Linked DNA regions of Homo sapiens: region 1 is linked to region 2. The links are contacts of gene promoters, found by promoter capture Hi-C in human tissues and cell types (Jung and others, 2019). All regions are on one chromosome and are shown on one strand. Each heading gives the region's core, a stretch centred on a gene start or on the middle of the fragment in contact. The rest is flanking DNA. Distances are from core to core; before and after follow the strand shown.

Evidence for each region. The method cuts DNA at HindIII sites, captures the fragments that hold promoters and counts their contacts. A contact is called where the count stands out against the background at its distance.
Region 1: a contact is called between a fragment that was not itself captured here and the fragment with the promoter of NUP210 in region 2, in 1 of the 25 tissues and cell types used here (spleen).

What each region holds. Positions count from the first base shown.
Region 1 is chr3:12,876,829-12,881,788 of GRCh38, reverse strand. LINC02022 (long intergenic non-protein coding RNA 2022) reads left to right here. Exons shown (of 3, transcript NR_136189.1): 2 at 2,796-2,884; 3 at 4,075-4,267. It overlaps LOC105376956 (a long non-coding RNA gene), which reads right to left and starts at 3,490. Exons shown (of 5, transcript XR_940601.4): 1 at 3,402-3,490; 2 at 2,396-2,634. RefSeq lists an enhancer at 4,599-4,960. The HindIII fragment of the contact is 6,664 bases long and covers 1-4,960 here.
Region 2 is chr3:13,417,066-13,422,148 of GRCh38, reverse strand. It overlaps NUP210 (nucleoporin 210), which reads left to right and starts at 1,827. Exons shown (of 40, transcript NM_024923.4): 1 at 1,827-2,089. The coding sequence starts at 1,923. RefSeq lists silencers at 1,593-1,992, 2,043-2,612. The HindIII fragment of the contact is 28,440 bases long and covers 1-5,083 here.

The sequences.
Region 1 (4,960 bases), core at 1,757-4,256, 540 kb after region 2:
CCCGCCTTGGCCTCCCAAAGTGTTGGGATTACAGGCGTGAACCACCGCACCCGCCCTGGTGTCACCTCTTCGTATAAGGCCCTCTTCTTAGAAGGACACAAATTATCTCAGATCAGGGCCCCACCTTGTAACATCATTTAACCTTCCTGCCTTCCTTATTCCAAACACAGCCACCCGAAGGTTAGGGCTTCAGCACAGGAATTTTGGAGGAACATAAACATTCCGCCCATGATACTATTTTAGGTCTTGTTACAGTTCCTTCAGTAAGATTGATTGGTTTATTTTTTAGAGACAGGGTCTTGCTCTGTCATTGAGGCTGATACGCAGTGGTGCAGTCATCACTCACTGCAGCCTCGAACTTCTGGGCTCAAGCGATTTTACCACGATAGCCTCTTAAGTAACTGGGACTACAGGCACACCTAGGCTATAATTGATTTATATAGAATTCTTTGCCTTTCATATTAAACATATTCCTAGGTACTGGTGGGAATGTAAAACATTGCTATTTATATCAGCTAAACAGCAGGAACAACTCAAATGTCCATCCACTGATAAGTGAATAAACAAAATGTAATTTATCCATGTATTAGGATATTATTCAGCTATAAGAAGGAATAAATTAGTGACACATGCTGCAACATAGGTGCTAGGTGAAGGAGGCCAGTTGCAAAAGACTGCATGTTTTATGATTCCATTTCAATGAAATGTCCAGGCTGGGTGCAGTGGCTGATGCCTAAAACTGCAGCACTTTAGGAGGCTGAAGTAGGAGGATCACTTGAAGCCAGGAGTTCGAGACCAGCTTGGGCAACATAGCAAGGCCCTGTCTCTATGCAAAGTTAAAAATTAGCTGAGCTTGGTGGCATGAGCCTATAGTCCCAGCTACTTGGGAGGATCCTGTGAGTCCAGGAGTTAGAGGCTGCAGTGAGCTGTGATCACGCCACTACACTCCAGCCTGGGCAACAAAGAGAGAATCTGTCTCAAAAGAAAAAAGAAAACGTTATTCTTTGGGAAATAAGCCTAACACAGGACAAATATTGTATCACTCCACTCTTAGGAAGTACCTAGAATAGGAAAATTCATAGAGACAAAAATAGAACAGAGTGGTGTCAGGGGGAATGGAGAATTACTCTTTAAGGGGCACACGATTTCTCTTTGGGATGATGGAAAAGCTCTGGAAATAAACAGTGGTGATGTTTGCACAACATTATGAATATATTTAATGATGCTGAGATGGACACATAAAATGGTAAATTTTATGTATGTTTGATACTTTTTTAATTAATAAAAAATAGGAAACTGCTGAGGGAAAAAAAGTAAAAAATCAATGAGTGCCTAAAGCCCATGAACTTGAAAATGAGGCTTTGCCTCACAAAAACCCCAGCTGCCTCTGCATCTGCACCCTTCCCATGTGTCTCTGAGCCCCAAACTGGTGGCCCTTTTGCTGTCAGCCCTCCCAGTGGCTGCACTGGCCTTGGGGGCTCACCCAGCATAGGGGGCAAAAGGATAGAAACCCAGGGCTCCATGCCGGGTGCGGTGGCTCACGCCTGTAATCTCAGCACTTTGGGAGGCTGAGGCGGGTGGATCACCTGAGGTCAGGAGTTCGAGACCAGCCTGGCCAGCATGACAAAACCCTGTCTCTACTAAAAATACAAATATTACCCAGGTGTGGTGGCACACACCTGCAATCCCACCTACTTAGGAGGCTGAGGCAGGAGAATCACTTGAACCCGGGAGACGGAGGTTGCAGTGAGCTGAGATCACGCCACTGCAGCCCAGCTTGGGTGGGTGACAAAGCAAGACTCTGTCTCAAAAGAAAAAAAAAAAAAAGAAAAGAAACCCAGGGGTCCACCCAGGCTGAGAGCTCCTGAGTTCTGGTGCTGAGCCTCCTGAGTTTCTGGAACTTCAGGCTCTGAATCATGGTGGGGGCCAGAGATTTTTACTCAGTATGGGAGGACACGTGAGTTAGGACTCATTTCTTGGTCCGTAAGGCTGTGCAAGCATCCCCTGGCAACTCCAGCCAGCTTTGCTGCTGAAGGAAGCTGTAGACAAAGAGTGCAGAGAAGCCCCCCAGGCACCCCCCTCCCCAGTGGAGCAGGGCCTGGAAAGTCAGTGGCCTTCCTTTCTTCACAACCTCAGTCGCTCTCACCCCTGTGGCCAGTGTGGAAACTGGGATGCTGGGAAGCTTGCCCAGGCACCTTTGACCCCGCAAGTCCCTGGAGCTCTGCCTTGGGTAGGGCTGCAGGCCCCTGAGTTGCCCAGGCAATGCCTCCGGGAGTGCCAAGGCAGGAAACTCACTAGAGAGCTGGAGCTTTAAGAAAACTTCATGCCTAGGCCCCATCTTCAGCACCATGGATTTCCTTGGACTGAGAGAACCACTGGTGTGTTGAAGGCTTACCCAGTGATTTGAGAGTGTGGCCAGGATGGAGAAGCACACACTTCTGGATGCTGTCAGCGGAGGCCTTTGACCCAGGGCTTCTGCAGAACTAGTCAAGAACCAGTGGCTCCTCCACTACCCACAGCCCTGGACAATGACAGGCTGGGCAAGACAGACACATATTGGTGGGCACAAAAGATCTGTTTCTGTTCCTGCTTGGGGTGTTTCTGTGTGGGAAAAGAAATCCCTTCTTTCTTCATCTGGAACAGGAATTAAAAGAAATTAAAGAATGTGTAAGCAGAAACTCAGTTGTATGTAAGAAAACCTAATTCCCTCTGAGAAAGAGAAAGAGCTGGAGTCCTTTAAAATTAACTGCCTGTTTTTCTGTGGCTGTTGAGCCTTATCTCTCCTCCTTTCCCAGGCATTGTGAAGACCCTGTTTCCCTAGCTGTGCAGCTGCAAGGTCACTAGACAGATAAACTCAAGTTGCAAAACACGTTTTCCTAGAAAAGTAAGAAATCATGTAATGCATGTTTCAATTGAATAACTGTCTTTGTTTCTCACTTCTGTAGTATTTCCCCTGCACAAATCTCCCCCAACCCACAAAATGCTTAAAAGTTAACTCTTCGTTTGGGGCTCAGTCCTTTGGATGTTAATCCGACTGGGCCGGTGCACCTAAGTAATTAATAAATATCCTCCTGAGCCCCATTGGTCTCTCTGATTCCTTAAAAATCCCGCAACACCTCAAGGCCCAAAGCCAGCAGAACTGCTCTTCCACCTGGCCCTTCTAGTATGTTTGTGAATATGTTTCCTGGAGGAAGTTGTAATTCTACTGTCCCCTCTGGAGGCAGGCAGGGCTGAGGTCTGGAGGAGGCAGGGGCTCCCAGGAACAGTGAGACCTCTGAGCTGCTGTGTCTACATGGGGTCCTGGGTTGTGGACAGAGGCAGGTTGCTAGTTAGCACATAGACCAGTCAGAGGAGGCCCAAGAAGGAGTTGCAGCTGTTCTGGGCTGCGTTTGGGAACCTACGGCTGAGTGTGGCAGGCCTGTGGCAGTTGCCAGAAGCTGGCCCTGCAAGCCAGGGTGTGACCCTGCTGCTCTGTTGTCTTGCTCTCTGGGTCCTGTGGTGCTAGGAGGAGTCTTCTGGATGCTTCCTTCCAGGCCTGGGACAGAAAGTCAAGGGAAGAAGAGCATGGCCTGGTGGCCAGCCTGCCAATGACAAGTAGCTCTAGTGGGGAGAGGCCTAGGGACCAGGGCTGGATTCCAGGATCCATTCGGCAAAGGATCTCTGGCCAGCCACTACCCTCAGAGAGCAGTTATGAAGGAAAACCAGGTCAAGAAGCTGACGCCTGTCCCACAGGAGCTCACAGACTCAGGGTCAGACAGCCCTGGCAATGGGGAGGGACCTCTGTGACACTCGGGGCTGCAGCCACAGACTGAGACTGTGTCCGTGGGGTGTGCAGTGGAGACTTACCATGGTCACGGGCAGCACAGGTGGGAAATTGCACCAGTCACAGGCGGCCTGCAGGCCAGCCCTGAGCTGCAGGTGGGTTTTGTTTTATGTTCTGCAGTTTTTCTTTTAATCTGAAGTTTTATGACTCCAGTGTTTAACACACACACACACACACACACACACACACACACACACCCAAGATCATGTACAAAAATGCTGATTCCTGTGTCTCTTCAAAACGTCTTGCAGCCCCAGGCCTCCATTCTGCTTGCTGCAGCCGCTGGAACCACAGATGCTCCCTGGCAGGGCCACCATACCCTCCAGCACCAGCTCCTCACCTCATGCCTCTCAGGCAGATTTGGATCATCTGCCTGGCCAGGTAGGCCTGCAAGCCTATGGCCCCTGGGAAAGATATAATAAATGCCGTTGGCTTTTGATTTGCTTTTCTTGTTGCAGAAGGGGTTTTCTTGGGACAAAATTTGAGTGGAAAAGCATCCCAGACAGAGGTAACAGAGGTACAGATGCACGGACAAGAAAGGCCCCTGAGGTGTGGAGAGTATTGGTTCCACGGAACGGGTCCCCAGTGGTTTTATGATCAGGCAAGTTGGGAACACCAGTCCCAGTGTGCACATCACCACAGGGGCTGCACAAATGGATTCCAGCAATGGGGAGGCCAGCAGGTGCCCATGGCGCAGGTCCTGACGGCACATCAGGAACAGAGGTCTTGAAGGCACATCTTGAAGGCCTGCATCCTGTGGTCAGTGGGTACCCACCGAAAGGTTCCTCTGGAAGCCAACTCTGCTAGGTGGTGTCAGGTGTGTGCAGCTTCCACCATTCTAGGGCACCCTAGAAGTCAGCCTTCAGCTCGGCCTGCTTCAATATGGAGATGGTTTTTAACCCTTTGTTATTCTGTTGGGACTCTGGACATTTAGACGTCTGTGCAGGGGGGCTCATGAAGAGACCAACTTCCCTGATAGGCCTAGATATGGCCTAGCCTGAGGCAGAAAGGGAACACAATTGGGGCTGGATGTTCTTTCAGCTTCCCTTGCAGAGATCACTGACAGAGTGGTCAGCTTGGCCAAGCTTCTGCAAGGGCTGGCTGTGATGTCTGGGAGGGAGGCAATCCCCAGAGCAG
Region 2 (5,083 bases), core at 578-3,077:
TGGCATAGATGTGCCACAGTATTTAATCATCACCCATGAAGGACCTCTGTGCTGTTTCCAGTTTGGGCCTATTTGATAAAGCTGCTATGAATGTTTTATGTACAGGTGATTGTGGGAACATCACTTTTCATTTCTCTAGGATATATGTCCAAGAGTGAGATTTACCTGCCTCGCAAGACATATGTATATGTATGTATATGTGCCATATTTCATATATACATATGTGTGTGCATGTATGTGTATGTGTGTGCATGTGTGCCATGTTTTATATATATATATGCTTGTTTATGCATAAAATTTCTCTGGATGTATACTCAAGTGGGAAACACTCATTGCCTGTAGGGAAGGGTATTGGGTGATGGGGAGGGAGAGGAATCACTTTCACTTGGAACCCTTTTGAGCCTAAGTTTCAACCATCTGTCTGGATTACCTGTTGGAAAACAAATCAATCTTGTGCAACCCAGAAGACACCCACAGACTTCCTCACAAATACCCTCTGAGGCTGCCTTTTCCGCGCAAGTCTGTTTTTTGTTTCTTCAAAGGGAGCCCGTTGGAATTCCCCTCCCAGAGCACCTGGTTCCACACAGGGCCGACCCTCACCCCCTTAGTTCTGGTTATCTCCAGAGATTTCCCCCAACACACACATTCCCTGGTCTAGGGCCCTCAGGCTTCGAGGGTGACCCCAAACACCCCGCATCACCATCCAAAAGCCCCATGATCCCTGAGGGGCAGGCTCAGCCTATGCGGGCCTCGCTGAAGCCCAGTGCGGTGTCTATGCCCAACCCAGGGGCCGCCGCCTCCAAAAAGCCTTCCTAGCCTTACTGACATTTATCCTCTCCTTCCTGGTCACCCAGTGGCATCGTTGTGTGTCTTCCTGGTTACAGTCAGCATCCACTTCCTGCACTCCTCAGACAGCCGGCCAGTGCACCCTCACCCCACCCTTTCCTGACCTCCCGCTAGGCTGGGCCTTCTCTGCAAGGCTAGATTCATATTTTAGCGGCACCAAGCAGTCAGGTGCCTGCTGACGCATGCCTTCATGCAATTCACGACAGACAGCTAAAAGCCACAGAGCACAGCGCGGAATCTAAGGCCTTCCATTGGTGTGCAGGTGGATTCCGCGGTGCTAAACTTTCTTTTGTGGGTGTGGGGGCCGTGGAGGGGGTTGTGCTCTGGCAGCGTTGGCGCCCTAAATGACCTATAGGTAACCTCTAATGGCTTCCGCAGGGGGTGCAGTGCGGAGGACAAGAGCTTGGGGCTCTCTGGCTGAGTGATCTGGGGGCCATTCAACCGGTTTTTTCCTGGAGAAATGGGAATCTTAAGGCCTCTCTGGAAAGGGTGTGAGGGGGTCGAGGGGGAGCGGGCCCCGGGCCTTCAGCGCTTCAGCAGGTGGCTTCCCTTTGCGAGCCCGGGGTCCCTCTTCTGGGAAGCATGGGCTGGGACAAGGCAGGCGCCGGTTTTCTGCATCCCAAATGTCCTGGGGCATGTGTCCCTTCCTTGCTGACCGTGGGTCCGGGCCAGAGCGCAAGGTCCAAAGCCGGCGGCTTGGCTCCACCGCCAGGGGCAAATACCAGGGCGGGATGCGTGCTGCGGGGCGCCCCGGGGGCTCCCCCTTGGGACTTCTAGGGTCCAGGGGTCCCCGCGGGCGCGCCCCAAGCCTTCTCCCTCAGCTCCGGGGGCCCGGGCGCGCGCCCATCCCCCAGCCCCGCGTCCCTGCGCGAGGGCCGGGCTGGGGGTGGGGTCGCCGCGAGCTCGGCCCCCAGAGTTCCCGCGCTCAGGCCCAGGAAGCGGCGGCCGCCGACGGCCCTCGCCCCGCCCCCGCGCTCATCACCTGCTGGCCTGGCGCGCGCGCGGGCGGGAGCGGAGGGCAACGGGGCGGCGCGGGCGGCCGGGCGCAGGGTCGCGGGAGGTGACGCGCGGCGAGGATGGCGGCGCGGGGCCGGGGGCTGCTGCTGCTGACGCTGTCGGTGCTGTTGGCGGCGGGCCCCTCCGCCGCTGCGGCCAAGCTCAACATCCCCAAAGTGCTGCTGCCCTTCACGCGGGCCACGCGCGTTAACTTCACGCTGGAGGCCTCGGAGGGCTGCTACCGCTGGTGAGGCGCGCGGCCGGGCCGGGCGGGCGCCGTGGGCCGGGCTGGGCCTTCGCGCTGAGAGGCTGGGCGGGCGCCGGGAGGCCGGCAGAGCCGGCAGGTGCGCGGCGCGCTCTCGCTGGGCGCTAGGCTGCAGCACTCGGAGCGGCGGGTGCGCGTGGGTCGCCACCACTGCTCATGTCATGGCGCCGTCCGGGCCTCCGCGCCGCTGAGGCGCGAGCAGAGCGGGCGCAGCCTGGCGGCCGTGACCCGCGTGTTCTGGGTTGTGCGGGAGGAGGGGTGGCCTGGGGAGCGGCGTCTGGGACCGCAGGGCCCAAGCCGGCCGGGCCCGAGCCGGCCTGACCCGGGAGGGGGCGCCGGGGCAGCTGGGCCGCACTTCCCTTGAGTCTGGGACCCCAGCTCGGGTTTGTCTGTGACCGCCCTCGCCCTGGCGTGGGAAGTGAGTCTGTGAAACGAAGCGCAGCGCCTAGCGTCGCGGGGAGGAACGGAGACCCTGGAGGAAAGGAGTTTTGGAGGGAAGCCCAGGGGCCGCTTTACAGAGGCGAAGTGAGACGAGGCAGGCCGGCGCTTCCCCTCAGGCTGCCTCGGCGCGGGTCCTGATGCTCAGGGCATTTCCATCACCCTCCCTCTCGGGTTGGGAGTTCTCCAAGGGGTCGGATGCGGAGTGTGACCCTGTGGAACCACAGGGACCCATGAAACCAGAGACCGACACTGACAGGGCGGTGCAGTCCAGCCCTTCCATTTTGCAGACCAGGGGAAATGGAGCTCCTGCCCCTGGCAAGGCTGCGTGGGCACGACTGAGCGCCCTTAGCTTCCCAGCCCAGCCGTCCTAGGGGTGAAAAGATGGGCTTCCGCCCTTCCCACCCCCAGGATGCTCAGTAGTTGCTCCCTTTATTTCTGTTTCAAGACTGGGTCAAGGTTGAGGCAGAACGGGGTGTGACCACGTGACAGCCATGTGTGTAAGCCTGGACATGTGTGTGTCAAGCCTGTTTGAGTATTAGTCTGTGCGTGTATGTAAGTGTGATGCCCGAAGCTCAGACCAGCCAGCTTTCTCTGTTGCTTGCACTATTTGCCCTATTTCTTTCTTTCTTTTTTTTTTTTTTTTTTTTTTTTTGAGACGGAGTTTTGCTTTGTCGTCCATGCTGACGTGCAGTGGTGCGATTTCGGCTCACTGCAACCTCCACCTCCCGGGTTCAAGCGATTCTCCCGCCTCGTAGCTGGGATTACAGGTGCAGGCCACCTGGCTAATTTTGTTTGTTTGTTTGTTTGTTTTTAGAGTGCACTCCAGCCCTTGTTGCCCAGGCTGGAGTGCAATGGCGCGATCTCTGTCCACTGCAACTTCCGCCTCCCCGGTTCAAGCGATTCTCCTGCCTCAGCCTCCCGAGTAGCTGGGATTACAGGCGCCCGCCACAACACCCAGCTAGTTTTTTGCATTTTAGTAGAGACGGGGTTTCACTATGTTGGCCAGGCTGGTCTCAAACTCTGGATTCACTGTGTTGGCCAGGCTGGTCTTGAACTCCTCAAGACCAAGGAGAACTCCTCAAGCGATCCACCTGCCTCAGCTTCCCAAAATGCTGAGATTACAGGCGTGAGCCACCATGCCTGGCTTGTCTGGCCAATTTTTGTATTTTTAGTAAAGATGGGGTTTCACTATGTTGGTCAGGCTGGTCTCGAACTCCTGACCTCAAGTGATCCCGCCGCCTCTGCCTCCCAAAGTGCTGGGATTACAGGCGTGAGCCACTGCACCCGGCCTGCCCTATTTCTTTTTTGAAGGTCTCCTTCCTGAAATCAAGACGTACTAGGTCAGCCCATTGCATTTTGGTTTTAGTGCTTTATGCACCTGGAGGCTCCTATTTCTGGCCTGATGCCAGAGGCTGAACTTGGGCATTAGGTTTTCTGTATCCCAGTCTAAGGCCTAGTCTTGTGTGGGAAAATCAGCTGTTAGTCAATACTGTGGCGGGGATACATGCTCATTCTCTTGTTGAAGCTGTCTGTCCTCTCAGTATGTGGGCAAGAAAGAGGAAACTGGTTATTAAAAACAGCTGGCTTCAAGTGAATCCCTTTGGATATATTTGTGTGTTACTTTCTCTGAGATTCTATAGCTGTACTTTTTTCTTTTTCTAAACTAACAACACTTTTTTCCCCCCCAACATCATTTTCTTTTCTGAGAGGAGCTGAAGGGTGTTGGTGGATTTTAATTTACTTGGTAGGAAAAAGGGAAAAAACATTCTTAATCTCTGATGCATCAGAGAAGTGCTAAGTACCTTATAACGTGTTTGGCGTTGATCTGTAGTTTGTATTGCAGATGTGTGACTGCAGATGTGTGACTGCTATTCAAAGTGTCTTCTCAGAGGTGTTTGGAAATTGTGATTCCCCCTTAACTTGACAGGAAGACATTCTGTCAATCAAGCATTGAGAATATTTTCTTTATTTTTAGTATTGCTGTTCCTAGTGTAGTCGTCTATTGCTGCAGTTTTGAAGAATCTGCTCTGGAGATTTTAAGAGCTGGCCTATAGACATATATCCACAGTCCTCTAAACCTGGGAGGAACATTACCTCTTCATCCAGAAAGTTCATTGTTAAGTCTCTCAGACGAAAAAGAAAATGAGAATTCTGCCAGACCCTGTGGGAACATTTGCACATCCATTGAATTTGCAGCTGAGCTCTAAGTTTACAGAAATCACTGTGTGTGCCTGAGCCAACAGCTTCATGTTTACTTTTCCTATTTTTTTTATTTTATAACATCAAAATTGGACAGTTTTCGGGCCAGGGGAACCTTAGAGGTCACCTAGTTTAAACAGCCTGTGTTTCATATAGGAAAACCTGAGCTCCAGAAGGGGAAGTGATCTCTGGGAAGTCTTGTAGCGATGGACACTGAGTTGGAGCAGGAGCTGCTGGGACCCCTCCCTGTCCCACGCCATTAGACCTGGGGACTGGCAGCCTCTGGCTAATTTGCCAGGCTCTAATTCTCTCCAACTGCACCCAGCCAGCACTGGT